Regions from separate parts of the Homo sapiens genome. Here region 1 is linked to region 2. Evidence: promoter capture Hi-C in human tissues and cell types (Jung and others, 2019). All regions are on one chromosome and are shown on one strand. The core of a region is centred on a gene start or on the middle of the fragment in contact, and the rest is flanking DNA. Distances in the headings are between cores, read along the strand shown.

Region 1 (3,213 bases), core at 20-2,519, 79 kb before region 2:
ATCTCGCTTAAGGCTGGGGGATGAGCACAGACAGAAAATTGCAATGTCATTCGGCTGTGAAGGAGACTCGTGAATGATTTAGCAATTCTATGCAATTCACTCAAACCTACCCCTCTCGGAAAGAACCCAGGAAATCAAGCTGGAATGAGACAATGGAGGTGCTAGTAACAGTGATGAAACTGTTTGGGGCATAAGAAGGAAAAAACAAAAGCTGACCTTCATAGCCAATGGATTGTGGATAATGAAGAGATCGACATAGTCCAGTTGAAGTTTCTTCAGTGACCCTTCCAGGGCTGGGCGAACTAATTCTGGTCTAAAGAAAGTTGTCCAAAGCTGCAGTGAACAAAAGAAATAAAAAGTAGCTTATGATTTCACACACTTGGGGACCAAAATTAAACATAACAGAAATTGACACATGAGTAACAAAACACTGTGGTCTCAAACTAGAAGAACTGGGGCTACATTTGTATTATTCAGGGTAAATTACATCCTTGATGAGATGCTGAGATTTACTTGAATGACTGCAATGTAAGAAAACTGTGAATAAAACTTAGATGGAGCAGGAAAATCAACTTTAATGCATCAAGGGTTAATGGCATCGTCCTCTGAGAGCAGTCGAGAAATGTCAGGACACGGGGAATGGAATCTACTGTCCTGTATAATGAATTCCTCAAAACAATTCTGCTGAGAGATGCATTCTAAAAACAAGTTGTCGTCAGTGTAAACAGGCATAGGCTGTATCGCCAGTAACCAAGGCTTTATTTACATTGGAAGAAAGGTTTTCCACCCTAGGAAAATGTTATAACATTCAGGAAACTCAATGCTGAGTTGAAAAATAAAAAAGTATTTCCCAGTCTGGCTCCCTTTTCTGAATAACATCCCAACCTCACTTGATACGTCCTGAGAACAATTACTGAACAATCAACGGAGTGGCCCCAGAATGCCTTGGGTAATCGTATAACAGTTACTTAAGTATTATCGATCTCATCTCATATATGAATAATACCTGCCGCTCAGAGACATTGAAGAACAGTGTCCCACCTTTCACACATCTCAGAGAAAAGCCTTTTCTATGTTTTCATAACGTGCCTTCACAATATTAGGTAAGAAATACATTGTTCCTATGTTTTGATAATGTGCCTTCACAATATTAGGTAAATACATTGTTCTGAGACCACATTGTTTTTCTAAATAATACATCTGAACTGACGGTGGCCTCTGGCCACTGCACACACAGAAATTTCACCTCAGTGGTGTAGAAAATGTCCTCTCTCTTCACAGGGCCATCAGCAATCTTCTCTCGAATGGCCTTTCCGACCTCCTCCTCGTTTTGGTAGAAGAACGCCGCATCAATGTGACGGAAGCCTGCATCAATAGCCACTTCGGTGGCTTCACCAGCCTTGCTCTTGGGGGTCTATAAAACAGGAGTAAGAGGAGTCAACGATCTGCCTGACTCAGAGAAAATCCATGTATTTCCACAATGGCATTTTCCTTTTTTTTTTTAATCTTTTACTTTGGGTTCAGGGACACATGTGCAGGTTTGTTATATGTGTAAACTGTGTCACAGGGGTTTGGTGTACAGATTGTCACCTGGGTAATAAGCATAGTACCCAATAAATATTTTTTCTGATCCCCTCCCTCCACCATCCTCCAACCTCAAAAGGTCCCGATGTCTGTCGTTCCCCTCCCAGTATCCCTGTGTGTTGTTCAGCTCCCACATGTAAGTGAGAACGTGCAGTATTTGGTTTTCTGTTTCTGTGTTAGTTTGATTAGGATAATGGCCTCAAATTTCATCCATGTTGCTGCAAAGGACGTGATCTAGTTCTTTTTTGTGGCTTCACAGTATTCCACGGTGTTTATGTACCACATTTTCTTTATCTGGTCTACCACGGACGGGCATTTAGGTTGAGCCCATGTCTCTGCTATCCAATAGCATCTTCATAGTCTGCTGGCCTCCTGCTCCCCTTTTGATCATTTGGGTTTCCATGATAGACTTGCACACTCCGAGGACAGCAACTAACCTCCTGTAAGCTTCTACTCCCAAATAAATTAGTGGAATTGGCTTCACCCTGGAGCATGGAAAAATCACATCTCATTCCATATGAATCAATTGTACAAGAATAACCAACGGGAAAACTTCTGATACTGGGAGAATTTTTCTAAGGCACTCAATAGGAAGGACAGGTCAATCGACACACACACACACACACACACACACACACTACATACATATTACAGCTGACCCTTGAATAACACAGGTTTAAACTGCACAGTCCCACTTATACATGAATTTTTTTCAATCAAAATTACAAAGTGTGCCTACTTCTCCTGCCTCCCTTCCCCCTCCTTCACCTCTTCTGCCTCTGCCACCCCAGAGACAGCAACCCCAACCCTTCATCTTCCTCCTTCTCCTCAGCCTACACAGTGTGAAGAAGACAAGGATGAAGACCTTTGTAATGATCTACTTCCACTTAATGAGTAGCAAATATATTGTCTCTTCCTTATGATTTTCTTGAGTTTCTTTTCTCTAGCTTACTTTTCTCTAGCTTGCTGTATTATAAGAATACAGTATACCATACATATAACATGCAAAATAGGTGTTAATCAACTGTTTATGTTATTAGTAAGGGTTGCAGTCAATAGTTGGCCTGGTTTTACCCAGGACACAGACGTCACCTCACCAAGCTGGCGTTGCAACGTTAGGATGATAATATGTACACGCTCTGCCTCAAATTTCAAACAGTGGATAGTCTAATGACTACATCTGAGATTCTGCCCTAGCAAGCTTCCTAGAACAGCAGGACAAAAGACAGCACAACACACACGCAGGAAAAAAGCTTCTCGTTCCTGCAGTGACTTAAGGTAAAAACACCAATTAGAGTATTAAGGAAGCTTCTTTTTCACTTAGTGCATTTGAAATGTCTGAATATTAAGCACGTGCACGTATTACAATTTATTATGGTAAATGAGGGGGTTATGGGGAATTTTGTTCTATTCTCTATGGCACTTTTTTCTGTCTTTTCTAAGAGTAATAAACATTACATATAACATATGTAAGACACACATTATGCCTAATGGATGAAATGGATAATTATGTCATTGAAAACCTACTGACCCTTTCTGGCAGCTGTTATCTCGTGATATCTCATGACAGAGTTCTACCAAGATTGAGCCCATCCATTGGTCTCTCATTTTGGGGGCAATCCCTCCAAA
Region 2 (3,004 bases), core at 249-2,748:
CTCACCTGACTCTGTCACCCTGGGCCTGTGGGGTCCCAGCAGGTCACTTTTTACAGCCTCAGCTTCCTCATCTGTGAATAAGGGGTCAACAGACCGTAGTCTCCCACATCTCCCCATTACATATGGAATAAACTCCCAACTCCGCAGGCCTTTGGAGCACCTTAGTGCAGAGCAGCCTCTGCACCCACCAACACCTCCCTCCCATCGTCCTCCTTCTCTCCCGTTCCTCTCAGCCCTGGCTCAGTCCATGCTGATCCATCCTTTCTGTCTGAAACCCCTCCTGCTCTCCTCTCCTGTCTTGAGTAGACAGGACTGCTCTCTTCTGTAGCATTTTTTACCTACCTTTCTTTCTTTCTTTCTTTTGAGATGGAGTCTCACTCTGTTGCCCAGGCTGGAGTGCAATGGCGCCATCTCAGCTCACTGCAACCCCCACCTCCCAGGTTCAAGTGATTCTCTTGCCTTGGCCTCCTGAGTAGTTGGAATTACAGGCACTCGCCACCATGCCCGGCTAATTTTTTTTGTATTCTTAGTAGAGCCGGGGTTTCACCATGTTGGCCAGGCTAGTCTTGAACTCCTGACCTCGTGATCTGCCCGCCTCGGCCTCCCACAGTGCTGGGATTACTGGCATAAGCCACCGCACCCAGCCTTCCCTACCTTTCTAAACCATGAGGCCCTGTATGGTTAGGGGCCACAACTTACTTATCTCTGAACTCGTGGGTGTCTTGGCAATACCTGGTACACAGTAAGTCCTCAATAAATATAGGATGCATAAACGAGTAAAATCCAAGCCATTTCCCACTAAAACCTCCAGACCTCTGGTGTATGATGACCTGCTGTCATAGCCCAAAGGAATGGTTGAGTTTCAGGTATCCAGAGAAAAATGCAGGTGTAGAGCTTTCCCCTCAAACGTATTAACAAATAGATGGTGCTCAGTCATTTTCGCGGCAGGCTGCAGAGAAATCTTAAACTTTCGTGTTGTTTCACTGAGGGTACGGCAGAAGAGCCCAAGGAATGTGAAAGGAGAAACTTGCATAATTAGACTTTATGTGGGGAGTAGGCACCGAGTGTGTGACAAGCACAAGGGGCTACGTGTGCGGCCAGATGACGCTGCACGGTCAGAACCCACAAAACAACACGGCAACAGGTGGATTTTAAACCCCTTCTCTGCTTTCAAAGCAGGTCCAGGCTCTACATTTACAGAAGGAGAGTTAGGGCAAGGGGAATGTGGGGGAAACTGAAATTAGTTAGAACTAAGATCAGCAATAAAATTCTTCAAAGACACTGCTTCTCACTTTACCAGGATTTTTGTTTTGTTTTGTTTTGAGTTTTTATTTCTTCTTTTTCTTTTTTGTTCTTTGCTTTTATCAATGAAGCAAGTTGCTAGGATGCAAAAGGAGTTGGGGGGTAGAAGGGCGGGGTGGGAAGCAGAGGTGGGAGGGGTCGAGGTTGGAGCACCTGTCGTCTGCATGACGTGGACGGCTGGTTCTGGTTGTATTTTAAATGAAATCTCATCCCAGCGTAGACACCACGTCTGGAATTACGATCCACCCTGTGATCTGTCACTTTTATATACACACAGGGGAGGGGACCGTTTCCATAGAGAGGGAATATCACAGCCCACTTAGGAACAATACCGGAGAAGCAGGAGCCGAGACCCCGGAGCAGCCACAAGTTCATGGGGACGTGCACGGGGCCGCCCTCCTGGCCCTGAAGCTGCGCCGGCCTCCCTGAGCGTTTCGCTGCGGAGGGAAGTCCACTCTCGGGTAAGCTTGTGGCTGGGACTGACTTATGAAGGGTAAATGTATCTGCCCTAATTTAAGCAGGAGGTGCCATGCACTAGACAGGTGTGAGAGATGAGAGCTGCTAGCGCCCCTGGGTGGAAGCCCAAGGGAGCGATGCTGAACGCCCCCCACCCAATCAGCAGAAATCAGCCCCAAAGGGACCAGGGGAAGTTTCTCAGGGAGGCACAATCACATTCCCACGTTGGTATAGAGAGACCCTCTTTCCAAAGGTGTTAGATCAGAGGCAGAAGGTGTTCACACAAATCTGTTTTCTCTGAACAGAGCACAGCTGTGCACAGGAAAGTCAGTCCTCGGAGACAGTTTACAAATGGGGATGGGGTAGGGATGCCGGGGCTAATGGGAGCCACAGGACATGACTCCACGCCGCCTGCAAAGCAGCGAGGACACCTGCACTTACTGTTTACCTGTGCCACAAACCTTCACCTGTGCCATCTCCCGTCACTCTCGGGCACACCTGTGAAGCAGGTAACGTCTCCTTCCTAGGACGCGGCAAGTGAAATGCAGGTTAAGGGATTCACCCAAGAAAAGTCAGAGGCAAGGGAGTTTCCCCAGCCAGGTCCTCTGCCACCAAAGCCCAGAGCCCTTTGCCACACTAGGAACATTGCGGGGGTGTGTGCAGATACCTACAATGGCTAACTCCTACCTGTGAAGGGGAGATGGATGTTTGATGTTTATGTTTTCTGAAAATTCCTGTTCGCAATTTCTTTCCCAAGCATAGCCACCTACCAAAAATAACAAATGTGAGATTTTTAAAACGTTTTAAGTGGTCTAGTTTCAGTTTAACTTCTTATCAGTGTTTGCAGACAAACGGAGCCCACAGGAATAGCTCTGCACTTGGCAGAGATGTGTGATCAGTACTGTTTGCCTCCTGCCTTTGCTGCTTCATGTCCTGTCCTCTCCCTGTGAGGTGCTGGGAATTGGAGGCTGACCCAGGTCCCTCACGTTTCAGTGCTTGGCTCTGCCACAGCTCCCAGAAGTAACTGTGTCTCTTTACAGCATCCTCGACAAGTGCTACTGTCACCATAGCCCAAAGGAATGGTTGAGTTTCAGGCACCCAGAGAAAAATACAGGTGTAGAGCTTTGCCCCTCAAATGTATTAATAACTAGATGGTGCCCAGTTATTTTCGTGGCAGACTGCAGAGAAATCTTAAACTTTTGTGCTGTTTCACCAAGAATATGGCAGAAGAGTCCAAGGAATGTAA

What was found. The method cuts DNA at HindIII sites, captures the fragments that hold promoters and counts their contacts. A contact is called where the count stands out against the background at its distance.
Region 1: a fragment that was not itself captured here is called in contact with the fragment with the promoter of UCN3 in region 2 in 2 of the 25 tissues and cell types used here (H1 embryonic stem cells and heart left ventricle).

The regions. Positions count from the first base shown.
Region 1 is chr10:5,284,599-5,287,811 of GRCh38, forward strand. It overlaps the pseudogene AKR1C7P. Among named protein-coding and RNA genes, the nearest start is that of LINC02561, 15 kb to the left of the region's middle. RefSeq lists an enhancer at 1-162. The HindIII fragment of the contact is 3,084 bases long and covers 1-2,811 here.
Region 2 is chr10:5,363,468-5,366,471 of GRCh38, forward strand. It overlaps UCN3 (urocortin 3), which reads left to right and starts at 1,499. Exons shown (of 2, transcript NM_053049.4): 1 at 1,499-1,763. The HindIII fragment of the contact is 10,177 bases long and covers 1-3,004 here.